Regions from separate parts of the Homo sapiens genome. Here all the other regions are linked to region 2. The links are contacts of gene promoters, found by promoter capture Hi-C in blood cells and fetal thymus (Javierre and others, 2016). All regions are on one chromosome and are shown on one strand. The core of a region is centred on a gene start or on the middle of the fragment in contact, and the rest is flanking DNA. Distances in the headings are between cores, read along the strand shown. Region 1 overlaps OR8D1 (olfactory receptor family 8 subfamily D member 1). Region 2 holds the start of VWA5A (von Willebrand factor A domain containing 5A). Region 3 has its middle 28 kb from the start of OR8B2. Region 4 holds the start of OR8G5 (olfactory receptor family 8 subfamily G member 5).

Region 1 (3,283 bases), core at 548-3,047, 190 kb after region 2:
ATGTGAGCAAAGTGAGGCTCCACAAAGCCCTGGGTCCTATAATCCTAAGTAATTGTAGGCTGGATAGTTTGAGCAACCTTAGCAACTGCGAAAGCCACTTAAGAATCAGAAAATATTGGTGCAGCTTAAAATTGAACACAAAGGGGAAGCTTTTTTCAAGAAAGTCATGATATGATTATAGGGAAAAGAGAATATTTTCATATAAAGGTATTTTAGACACAGGGGATGGGATAATAATTGGTTATTTTCACAGTTTTCCAGCTTGTCCACATGCTTGAGGGTTAACTCTCACCAAATGGTCTCAAGCTCTCCCTGGATTTGTTAAATGTATAAGTTCTGAGCAGGGCTACAAATACCCATCTTCTAAATTGGAGCTTTCCCTTTAAAGGGGTGGTAGATTTCACTCATGAACCAAAAAATAAAAAATAAAAATAAAAATAACGGGGGAAGAGGGTCTTAGCATAAAAATAATATTGCATCTAAATATACTGAGAAAGAGAAACAGTTCAATTGAATTATTGCAAAGCTAACAACTAAGAATACAGTTTTAAAATCTGGGTTTGGAACACCCTGTTTCTAAGAATCAAATCTGCTTAGAAAATAAAGTGATTTAGAAAGAATGCTTCAGTTTTATAACCCTAACAAGAGCAGAAGAAAAATGAGACTAAAAGTAAAATAAGTTAATTAAACTGGAATAAGAGAGAGAAGAGGACAGGTTAGAAAACTATGTGGCACCAAATGATAATTTGAAGGTCAGGATCCTGGATTCAGAAAAGTGTTAATTGCACTATTAAAGCTGCTGAAAAAGAGTAAGTACTATGTGTCCCCCTCAAAAAGATCTTAAGGAATGGGAGGACTTGAGAAGATATAGGCACTGTATCTGAGAAACTCTAAGATAACATTAAAAAATATTAGAGCAAGGCATACAGAAGAGAAGATGTATTAAGGGGAAGGTGAGCAAGGCCACGGTAAATGTTTAGGACCTGGTTCAACAAACTGATAGGAAGATGTATTCTGGGTGAGATTATCAAAATGTAGGAGCTAAAGGTAGACAAGCTTTGTTAGAACAGTAGGATTTTGGTAGATACAAAATTTACTGATTTCTTATTTCTTGCTTGGAATGATTCTTTAAGCTAAAATCTAGAGTATTAGGTTGTAAAAATTATTTTGGCAAAAACAAAGAAAAAGTAAAGGGAGAAAGGCAACTAATTTCAGCAAACACTAATGGTTTAATATGTGATATAGAGTGAAGAAAACTAACTTGATATGGAAGTTAAAATGCTAGAAATTCAATGGAATATTCCTGGGAAGAAGAGAAAACAGCTGAGGGATGCAGAACAGTAGAGGCATCTTATTACTACCCAGCAACATACAAAAGCTAAAAACAAAAACAGAAGGAAATGTTACATGAGACCTAAGACCTGTGAAAACCCAAGAAAAGCATTGTATACAGAGCTCTTGGTACCTACTTTTACTGTAAGGTCACATGCTCAAAAACATGGACCACAGCTTCAGTTCAGGAATCTGCAGAGGACAGTTCTCCAACTGAAACAAATGTGGGGGTTATATCTTCCCTATGAGGAAGGTTTTTCAACCTTAGGCAACTCCATTGCAATAGATAGTGAAAACACATGGTCAGAGGTCCCTTAGTGTAGAACTGTGGTGTTAAAGTAGATATACAAATACAAAAAAAACAAAACCAGATCCATGAAGAACAACAAGGAAATGAAAATAAAGAGATTTTTAATATACTGAGTAGAAAAAAAAATAGTAAAAGCGATTCGAATAAGACCTGCTGACTAGAATTGCCATTCTTGTTCTTAACTTTTTCTTTTCTTTTCTATTCTTTCCTTTTCTTTTCTTTTTTCTTTTCTTTTCTGTTCTTTTCCCTTGTGTATTTGTCTAATTCCCTGAAGAATTAATAGATATCTGGGATCAGGCTAACATACCTCTTAGCATTCATATCAGTGGACAACTCAGTACCTCCCACATAGCAAGTATTCAACAAGCAAACATGGGATATTAGGAAGAGAGGACTAACATTGGAGAAAATCTGAATTCTCATGTCTTTTCTATCACAATTGGTAAAAGAAATTAAAACTACCTAGACCTTAGTTTTCCTATCAAAAGATAAGAATGTTAATACCTGCTTTACACAATTCTTTTATTTTGTTGAGAAAGTTGAATCAATCATAGATGGGAAAGTATTTTTAAAATCTAGATATTATGTATGTTACAACAGAAGAACATGAAAATAGAAAAAAGGAATATATGTTCATTGGAACTATTCATTTTTCCCATCTATAAATCCCCCAAATCAGGACTCATTTTCCTACTAAGACCTTCCTTAATGCTTTCTTCACATCCTTATTCCTCAGACTGTATATTAAAGGGTTCAGCATGGGGATCACCGTGGTGTAGAACACAGAGGACACCTTCTCCTGGTCCAGGGAGTTACTTGAAGGGGGCTTGAAATACATGAAGGTAATGGACCCAAAGAAGATCACCACAGCCATGAGATGAGAGCTGCATGTTCCAAAAGCTTTGGACCGGCCCTCTGAGGAGCGGATGTGAAGGATGCTGTAGAGGATGAAGGCATAGGAGACAGCAACAGCTAGGGTGGGCACCAAGGTGTTAAACCCCGCAATGATAAAAAGTAGAAGCTCATTGAGGTGTGTGTTGGAGCAGGAGAGATTGAGGAGGGGAAGAACATCACAGAAGTAATGGTTGATAATGTGGGATTTGCAAAAGGACAGTTTCATCATGGCACTTGTATGAGTCAAGGCAGAGAGAAAGCCCAAGAAGAAGGCAGCCAGCACTAGCAGTGAGCAGACCCATGAGGACATGATCGCATTATAAAGCAGTGGGCTACAGATGGCAACATAGCGATCATATGCCATGGCAGTCAGGAGGTAACCCTCAGCCACCACAAAGACCACAAAGAAAAAGAGCTGGACCATGCACTCAGAGTAAAGGATTGTATTCTTCTTTCCTAGGAAGTTCACCAGCATTTTGGGAGTAATGACAGAGGAATAGCAGAAATCGACGAAGGACAAGCTGCTGAGGAAATAGTACATGGGGGTGTGAAGTAGAGGGCTGACTGCAATCAGGAGAATCATGCCCAGGTTGCCCACTACTGTGACCACATAGATTCCCAGGAACAGGAGGAAGAGGGGCAGCTGGAGCTCTGCTTGCTGTGTTAAACCATCTAAGACAAACTGAGCTGCCATAGAATAATTTTCCATGGTCATTCTTCTTTAGGCATTTCTGTGAAAATAGAAAG
Region 2 (3,094 bases), core at 241-2,740:
TATCGGTTTAATTGTGTATATTGTGCTAGGTTATGGGAATTTTCACATAGTTGTTTTTTCAACAACCAGCAACTTCTGTGTGTTTCCTGATTCAGTGCCCTCTAACCACGCTGCATGCCTGGTCTGTGGCAGACTTTTAGTGCTAAGCTCTAAGCCCAGCAGGATCAGATGATGAACTCTGCCCACGTTTCCAGCTCCTCCCTTTTGTTGCTCAGATGTTTCGGCCAATGGAAAGAAGGCACAGTCACAAGGAACAATACCAGACATGATTTCTCTCCAGAGAAAAGGATAATTTCCTCTCATAATTAGTTCAGTACATGTAAAAAACATGGTTGTAGGGCCTAGTACTGATAAAATAGAATTTGTGCTTATATTATGCTTTACTATATATGCATATATTACATGCATGTAACTGTATATACATGCATGGGTGTACATATATACACATATATACATCTATGCATGCACATCCATGTATATAAATGTGTATGTGGGTGTATATATATAAAGTATATAAATGTGTGTGTGTGTGTGTGTGTGTGTGTATATATATATATATATATATATATATAAAACTTTTATAGCCACTAAGATTCATTAGATCTCACAAAAACAATCAGTGGAGGTTTGTCATTATCCCCGTTTCAGATGAGAGAACAAATAACTTGGGGAGAGTTATTTGTATATAACAAATATCTCACAAAAACAAGTATATAACCAGTATATAACAAGTATATCCACAAAAAATACATCACAGAGACCAAAATCAAGCTGTGTTTTCCATATGTATCATGTATTCTTTATCCTATAGATTCTCGACAGCAATATGACACTTTAAGTCTCAGATTTAATAGGTTGTTTTGAAATAGAGAAGCCATGGGGACCTTGATCGCTTCTAATGTCCTTTAGCCAGGTAAATGAGCATAGACATTCTCAGTTACTTACATCGTTAACCCAAACATTTGGTTTCAGGATCCCATAAGCGACCCATGACAGGAAGACTTGGGCTTCCCTGGCTAGAGCTTCTCTCATTAGAGCAGATGTGTGTGCCTTGCACTATCTCCTTATCTTTCCCCCTGCTGTAGGGGAGGGGCAACTTGGGGGAAAATGACTCACATTAGAGATAAGGTGTCAATGATATAATCTCCATAAAGCTTTGATTAACAGGGCCCAGGACACAGTAAGCCTTTGGCAATTAAGCTTTTACAAAAATATGCAGTTTTTAATGTCATTGTTGTTGTTCCTGTTGCAGCATTTTCCCTTGCCCTCTTTGCCTGTTCTCTGATTGTTCCTTAGCAAAGAGCAAAGAAAAAAACCAAACGTTCCAAAGTCGAAGACTTTTCCTTTGATACAAACAAGCGAAAGTTCGATTATTTGTTCAATAATTTTCCGTTGATCCCTTAGTCTTGTAGTCGCTACTTTATAACCGGTCCCTAGAAGGGGGCGGTTCTTTCCGGAAATTATGACTGCAGCTGTTTTCACTCCGCTGTGACTCAGAGCGCTCCGGGCTGCAGGAGAGGAAGGTAGGGGACCAAGCTACCGGTGCAGGGCCTGGATCCAACCCCTGCTCTGGAAGACTGAGAGCTCCACATTCTAGCTCCCTTTCCCCAGTCCCCAAATTTGTAGGGGCTCCTTGAATTGCACGCCCCATGGGTGGAGGATTTCATCCTGATGTATGATCCCCAGGAAGGTTCCTGCAAGTTTGGCAGTTTAGGGGAATCTTTTGGAGGTTGAAGGAGGGATTTAGCCATCTCCTAATCTCAAGGCCCTTCTTCCTACTTTCCTTCTCTTTTACTTTACTTTTTTTCCCGCTTTCTTTCTTTGATATAGACAATTGATGTTTTCTCAGTTTCAGGATAGTGTAAGCTGAGGAAATGAGGCTGTAAGCCTCATCTACTCCAATCAGTTGCAGCCCCTAAGCCCTTCTCTATAGAAATGTAAGAGACCGACGCAGTCTCTTCTGTAAATACGTGGACATTGGAAATCTAGGACTGAATGGAAAGGTTAAATCAATCTCTGATTTTATCCAAGCCCCACTTCTTACCCCAAATCTCCTCCTTGTCTGGTTCCGAGTTCTCCACTTCACCCCTGCCACAGGCCGCAGGGGTGTGTGTGGCCGGTGGTGCCACCCAGCTCCCCTCCCACCCTCCTAGCTGCTGAGCGGCTGGTGCTGGGACTCTGCATTCCTGAAGCAGCTACCTGGCTAGGCCGGAAGCCTTGTATTCTCCCAGCTGCCTCAGATTCATGGCTTTCAGCTTGGTGGCCAGTCTCTACCTAAGCCTTGCAAGTTGCCTTTCTGAAGTGCCATCCTGAGAGACAGAACTAATTCTGACCCAAACTAATTTTGTTTGTACTGGGAAGAGTGGGGGCAAGGGTGCAGAATAGCAAGTTTTCCTCAACGGAGGATTTGTTCTGAGCTTAGAATCAGGAAGCGAAGGCTATTTCCTTGTAGGGGTGCCCTTTGCGTCTCTCTCTCTTTTACTCTAGCCACCTTGGTGAGTATTGCCCAGCCTGAGAGCTTCTCTTTCAGCTGTTTTACTCCTGTGTGAGTCTCCTGCTTTAGGCTCTCTGCTTAATGTGTTATTAGAAATTCTTCCCTCCCCCAGCCCAGCCTGTTCTACCAGAGAACTTGCCCAGGTCAGAGGTCTGCGTAGAAGCCCTTTTCTGAGCATCCTCTCCTCTCCTCACACCTGCCACTGTCCTCTGCGTTGCTGTCGAATTGTGAGTCATTTTGCCACACTCAGTTTTTATCCAATTTCTCAAAATAAAAACAGATATGGAATGAAAAGCCTGATTTATTGGTGCTGTTTAGTGGGGGTGCAAATGTAGGCTATGTGCCTATATAATATTTAAATATATTAGAATATCTTGGATGGATACAAACAAATATACTCGTATCTTTTAATTTTGGGTCCCAAAAGAAAAGCCACAAGGTAAATGGCCTGTGGCAGGAGTCCATCTTGAATCACACAGCTTCTCACATGCAGCGCGTCTCTGAATGCCATGATCCAAAGTGAATGGTGGCAGAGGTTTATTGATTAACAGTAACAACAATAATAGGGACAATAGTGATGTCTGTCATCATTGATTAAAT
Region 3 (3,192 bases), core at 335-2,834, 240 kb after region 2:
AGTTAATTAGACATTATCAAAGTTAAAATCCTTTCCTCTAAGAAAGATAATACTCAAAGAATGAAACAAGCCAAACACTGGAAGGTTATATTTTCAAATCATACTTCTATTAAGTAATATACATCCAGAATCTGTAAAGAACCAGTAAACCTCAAAAATAAGTAAAGCAACAACTGATTAAATAAATGAACAAAGGTTGTACCTAGACACTTTGCCCAAAAGCGGCATATGGATGGGAAATAAACTCATGAAAGGATCCTCAACATCTTTAGTTATTAGGGAAAGTCAAATTAAAATCACAATGACATACCACTAAAAACCTATTAGAAAAGTGAAAATAAATAAACAAAGTGACTAAATCTAATGCTAATGAGTACACAGAGCAGCTGAAATGTTCATTCATCAGTGGTGGGAATGCAACATGGTGCATCTGTTAGAAAACCATTCGTAGTTTCTCTTAAGGTCGTCACAATTTAAGGTATTTGCCTACAAAAATAAAAGCTTCTGCTCACACACAAAAACTGTACACTTATGGTCATAGTGGCCTAAGGATTATTCTAACGCTCCTCCTCTTCTTTTTCTGTAGAGATGCTAAGGGCACTTATAAGTCTCAGTCTTTGATGTCAGTCAAATAAAAGTCATGATTTTTAATTACGATTTTGCCCAGAAGTAATCATGTAACCAAAAACAAGGCATCTAAACAGCAATCTCTGTTTTTGAGATATTATAATAATTACAGGTAGCATCATGTAAGCTATTTTATTCTGATATAGTGGCTTCTCCAGGAGCCTATCTATAATTCAAGTGCTTTAATAAAGACATAATTATGAAGTCGTTTATACACAGACCAAGGTGCTTTTGCCTTGCTGTCTTTGGAGGCTTAATATTCTATTCAAAATTTTACATCACAAATAACACATTCCACCAGGCCTAAAAGATCGGGAACTTTCTTCTCCCCTCCTTTTCTAACAGTGCCTGTTTGACTTTTAGGTACAATCATTATCACACAGTTAGTGACTCCAGAAATGCCTGTCAAAAAATATATTACACACACACACATAGTCTGCGTAGTTACGTAATTTTAACATTATGATATACATGGCCATATAATGCATAATGCTCTGTAATCTTTCAGATGAAATCACTTTTTTTTTTTTTACTCAGCACTACTTTCCTCTTAGCTCACTCCAATTCATTGCCCTTATTTGTTTCATGTTTATAACCTACAACACACCCTCCCGTATGTTGTTACGTGCTTATATTATCTGACAACTGCAATATGAGTTTCTAATACCTTAAAATGAAAATACCTAATGAAAGCCACAAAACCATGAGTGATTTAGTTGTCTGCAGGTCCTCCAGCCCTCAGGTTTAACCTTTCTTTAATATCAGATAACTTATGCCTTCGTCCTACTCAGAAAAATTCTATGATCACCATAGTATTTGTAAGGCCTTCCAATTTAGAGAAAAAGGAGTCATAGGTAGAAGCTTTAATTTTCCATTGTTCTACTTTCTAAGTTCCTCTTTCCTAACTTGAAATCCAATTGCCACTCATTATTTTTCTGGTTGAAGTTTCCTTTCTTTCCCTTCCTGGTTCTCCACAAATATGACCATAGATTTCTCACATTCACTCCTCGAAACATTATTTAATGTATAGTCGTTTTGGATTACAAATTTTATCAAAGCTTTATGCTAATAAAATATAGTTACAGTAATTTACAGAACAGATACAAATTCAGACTGAGAATTTAAATTGAGAATTTCAGATGGTTTCTAAATCCTAATTGATAATCCCCACAGAGGGACCTCTTGTATATTGGCTATGTGTCTCTTTGGATTCTTGCCTAAATGACAAATTGGTAGGCTCTTTTCTCTCCTATGCCTCTATTCTCTGAGTTATAAACACCAGAAAATATTTCAATATACTTTTTGATTTTGTAAAATACATCAACTCCCTACTTGAGCCAATCAATTCGCAACTACCCCAGCTTAATAGATCTCCACTTTCACAATTTCACCCAAAAACACAATTTCCCAGAACAAAAAACTAAAGCAACAACCATCCTGAGATTATTTATCATCTAGAAACAAAGTGCACTCAACTGTCCAAAAGAAATGTTTTCTCATATAGTATCTCGTGTTTAATAAGTGAAATAATAAAGCATACCAGAAAAAGTAGTAGACTTGAAATCAGGAGTCTATTAACTTATTTTTTTAGGCTTTTTTATAAAGAAATTGTGTGACTTTAAGGGAATCATTAGCATCTCTTAGTTTCAGCACCTCATAGATGCAATCAGTGTATACTGGTGATCTATATAAGCTATTTGGGGTATACCAAGGTAAACGTAAAATTAATGCCAAAAGAAGCTTCATGTGTAGTATTTAAAACTGCAAAGTGGGCTGTATTTGTTAAGTCTTGTTGAACCTTGTCTGTCTGGAAAACGCTGACGTTTAAAGGATGCATGATGCTGCCCAGTGGAGGATGGAAAGACGAGTAGAGACAGGTTGTCAGGCTCTTACATGCAGCGGAACATTGTTATCCTAATTTTACTTTACTTGATCATTTGAAAAACCAATCATCTTTTCTAGAAGAAAAAAGGAAGTCCATAATGACAATGGAAAAAGAGAAAAACTTTCTTTATTATTACACAGGAAAAATGATGAAAAGGGGAAAGATGTGCAAAGGGTGAGGGGAAAAATCTACTATAAAAAATTGGAGACAAATTGACAGGATGATACTCAACTAACCATCATCATGATAACAAATAGGAAAAATTATTTCCTCCTCAATTATTATAATAAAATACAGAGAATCCCCATCCTGTAACTACATACACAGAGAAATGTTGTTTATGGCAAAAACATTCTCCTACTCAGAGATTTTCCCATGGCAAATTTAACATCTTTCCTCCTTAAGCTGTAGATTAAGGAGCTCATCATGGGAAGCCCATTCATATAAAAAACAGAAGAGAATTTTCCCTCATCCATAGACCCAGCAGAAGATGGTTTGAGATACATAAATGCACTTAATCCAAAGAACAGAGAAACAGCAATTATGTGGGAACTGCAAGTGCTGAAGGCTTTGGACCTTCCCTCATTGGAACTGATGTGGAGGATCCTGGAGAGGATGTCACCATAAGAGATAAAGACGGTGACAGTGGGCACAATGGTATTGATGCCTGCCACAATGAA
Region 4 (3,210 bases), core at 115-2,614, 140 kb after region 2:
ATACTCTGGGCAGCTTTAAACAACTGAAATTTATTGTCTCATAGTTCTGGGAATTAGAAGTCAAAAAATCAAGATGTCAGCATAGGTGGTTCCTCCTGAGAGCTCTGAGGAAAATTTCATGCCTCTTCCTAATGCCCAGTTATGGCCAGCTTTTCTTGGTGGAAGTGATTTTCTTAAAGTCACACAGCAAGTATGGAGTTAAGCTGAGATTTGAACCTAGGACTGTCCAACCGAATATCAGGATATACTGGAATTTTTATATCAAGTCATGAAATATTAGAACTGGAAGAGATGTTAAAAATGATTTAACCCAATTACTCATATTGTACTGTGTACTTGAAAAATATCTGCTCAGTGGTTACATAGGCTATGCTCTAACATTTCTGGTTGTAAGTCCTGCACATTAAGGTAACTGCTTCCATTTCTGGATGTATTTGTATGCTCTTCTTTGTTGTGAAACAAAATGTGTCTTACCATAGTTTCTAGCAGTTAGTATTACAGCAATTTCTTAGACATGAAGAAAATGAATTCAACATCTCCTAAATATAGGAATATGCTGAATATTTGAAGATAGCTATCATGTGTCAAACAGAGTATTACTGTGCTAGCTAAATATCTTCAGTTCTCTCTGACAATCTTCAAATGACAAAATTTCCAGAACATTTTTCTCCTGAAATTTTCCAGTTTTTCTATACCCCACAAAATTATGGTACTCCAAACTAAACAGTAGTCCAACTATTGTTGAGTGTTAAATAAGACTAAGCAATTCCATTTTCTAGGACCATTTTTTTTTTTTTTTGCAAGTGAAGACTAAAGATATATTGAGTCTTTTTTAAAAGTCACATTATACTGTTGACCAGTATTGAATTTGACTTTCACCACCTCAACCATGAAGTACAATAGTGTAGATCAATCACAGTCCACTGCTCCCCGGCCACAATGGAGGATTACATGAATTATATTTAGGCTGTTTTATTGCTTTCCTGCAAATATTCAATTTAGCAACAAAGGAAGATAGTTCATTGGTTTTGGAGAAGCTGTTGAAATATAAGCATGAGATCTGTCAAGCAGTGATTTGATTTATTATTTTAAAATTTCTAACACTAATATGAGTAAGATATAACTTTTCAGGAAGTGTCTTGGTCCTCTAAAATCAGCTAATAATAGTCTGGGCTGTGAACAAATAGTACTGGCTTGTAGTTTCTAAGAAATGCAGAATCTCAAACCGCACTCAGACTTGCTGGATCAGAATATACCTTTTCACAAAATCCTTTATTGCCAGTAGGCACAAATCTTTATTGCTAATCGACAAGTTTAGAATTGACAAAAATTCCCCTGAAGAAAAATTAGACAATTGGGTAAATGCCAACAGTAATTGCTTCTTTTCTCAGGAGCTTGTGTTCCCAGAGAAATGGAAATCCTTGGAGAATGTTTGTCTGCATGATATTTGGTACCTGGCGTATCTAAACCCAGGTTTAGCAATCAAAACTGCTCAGGCCACTGTAAAAGGGGAGGATGTGTGCTAGAGCTAGAGAAACACAACTGAAAAGTGACAACTGGAGATGCTGATCAGCGGTGCAGATTGATTTCAAAAGTGAGTGAGATGTCTTGTGCTTTGCAGTCTCAGGACTAAAGACTACAGAACGCTGGCTTGGTACCTATGACTTCCAACAGCAGCATTAGTGCCATTCTCCAAGTCAAAGACAGCAAGTTGCAAATAAAATTTGGAACTGAGGTTTCAGGCAAAAGAAAGGTGAGTGTGTTCATCTCACACTTATGATTTGATGCTATTAGGTCTAGAAGTAATCACTGTAAAAACTGTAGGAAATATTTGTGAATACTTTCGTTCATTCATTTAATCAATCATTTATTCTTAAAAGTACTTTTTAAACTTTCAGTGATTTGCCAGATATGGGCTAATACTGGGAATACAGAAGAGAGGATGTCTGATCCACAGCCTGGCTTACAGTACAGTTCAGTCTAAAAATGTGCTGTTTAGAAATTAGAATTTTCTGAGCATGCAGTAGAAAGGTCCAATCAATTACAAGGAATTGGAGAATGGTTCTATGATTATTATAGTTTTGAATGAGATATGAAAGAAAACAAATGTTTGCCAGACAACAGAAAGTGTAATTGGTAAGACTATTTAATGTAGAAGGAACAGTAAACAAAAAGTCAGACAGCTAAGTGAATGTGACAAATTCCAGGAACTGAATGAAGCCAAATATTTCTCTCACAAAGGAGGAAGATACAAGACCTAAGAGTAGAAAGAGATGAGAGATAGTGGATATTTGTTTTTAATCATAAGATAAATTAAGAAAATCTTTTCCCTAATTTTTCTGAAGATGGATCGTCATGCTGTGGTTAAATATATTTAATGGCCAGAAATAAATAGCCTCTTCCTTTTTTAAGATCTCAAGTTATTAGAATATTTTTATATTGATTAAAGGGTGTATTCTTTTTTAATAGGAGAAAAAGGCATACAAAATTTATTTAATGTGTATATACATGGAAGTCATACACTAAGTATGAAACCCAAGAAGGACCAGGTGGTTGAGGCTTAAATACTCTCTTCATGGAAGAGAGATGTGTGGACGCAAGAGGTAGACATTATTTTGTAAATGATTATCTTTGGAAGCTGGATGAGACGGACAAGTTATGGAAGGTGAGGGGTGGAAATGCATGGGGACACAGGTTGTCTTATTATGCAGATAAAGTCCCCCAGGTAATCTCTTGGAGCTGCCTTGAGAATAGCAGATGAAAAGTCTGTCTGTGCATGGTGATGACTCCCAGTCTCTTCTCTGGTGGTTAATCTTTCCTGGTTATCTTTCCTGGATTCCAAAGAAGGGGGTCTTAAGACAACTGCATTTCTTTGGGAAAGAAGCTTAGTTAGATAAGGAAATTCCAAAGAGTCCCACCCAGTACTTTGGGGAAGAGGATCTGAGAGACAAGGAGGTGGGAGAAGGTCAGAAACAGCCCTTGGTTCTGAAGCTTATTTCCAAGGCCTTTTAAAGCACTCAGCATGCCAGAGTGCCATATTTTGGGGAATCATCTTCTGCACCCCAACATCACCTCTCTTCTCTCTTAGGAGAGTCCTTCCTTTCTAAATCTAGCTCTTGTACACGTACTCCATATCCCATTATTTTCTTCTTCTCTGAGACTTTTCCCCATTGAATTATCTCCTCTCTGGCTAGCATCTTCAACATCTAA

What was found. The method cuts DNA at HindIII sites, captures the fragments that hold promoters and counts their contacts. A CHiCAGO score of 5 or more calls a contact.
Region 1: a fragment that was not itself captured here is called in contact with the fragment with the promoter of VWA5A in region 2 in 2 of 17 cell types (M2 macrophages and total B cells); the score reaches 6.2 in M2 macrophages.
Region 3: a fragment that was not itself captured here is called in contact with the fragment with the promoter of VWA5A in region 2 in 1 of 17 cell types (total B cells); the score reaches 5.1 in total B cells.
Region 4: a fragment that was not itself captured here is called in contact with the fragment with the promoter of VWA5A in region 2 in 1 of 17 cell types (M2 macrophages); the score reaches 6.4 in M2 macrophages.

The regions. Positions count from the first base shown.
Region 1 is chr11:124,307,516-124,310,798 of GRCh38, forward strand. OR8D1 (olfactory receptor family 8 subfamily D member 1) reads right to left here. Exons shown (of 3, transcript NM_001002917.2): 3 at 1-3,267. The coding sequence starts at 3,251. The coding sequence ends at 2,325. Among named protein-coding and RNA genes, the nearest start is that of OR8D1, 4.8 kb to the right of the region's middle. The HindIII fragment of the contact is 1,486 bases long and covers 1,055-2,540 here.
Region 2 is chr11:124,113,960-124,117,053 of GRCh38, forward strand. It overlaps VWA5A (von Willebrand factor A domain containing 5A), which reads left to right and starts at 1,491. Exons shown (of 19, transcript NM_001130142.2): 1 at 1,491-1,523; 2 at 2,607-2,721. The HindIII fragment of the contact is 2,481 bases long and covers 1,199-3,094 here.
Region 3 is chr11:124,354,698-124,357,889 of GRCh38, forward strand. It overlaps the pseudogene OR8B5P. Among named protein-coding and RNA genes, the nearest start is that of OR8B2, 28 kb to the right of the region's middle. The HindIII fragment of the contact is 197 bases long and covers 1,487-1,683 here.
Region 4 is chr11:124,254,882-124,258,091 of GRCh38, forward strand. OR8G5 (olfactory receptor family 8 subfamily G member 5) reads left to right here and starts at 1,495. Exons shown (of 2, transcript NM_001005198.2): 1 at 1,495-1,753. The HindIII fragment of the contact is 3,035 bases long and covers 1-2,882 here.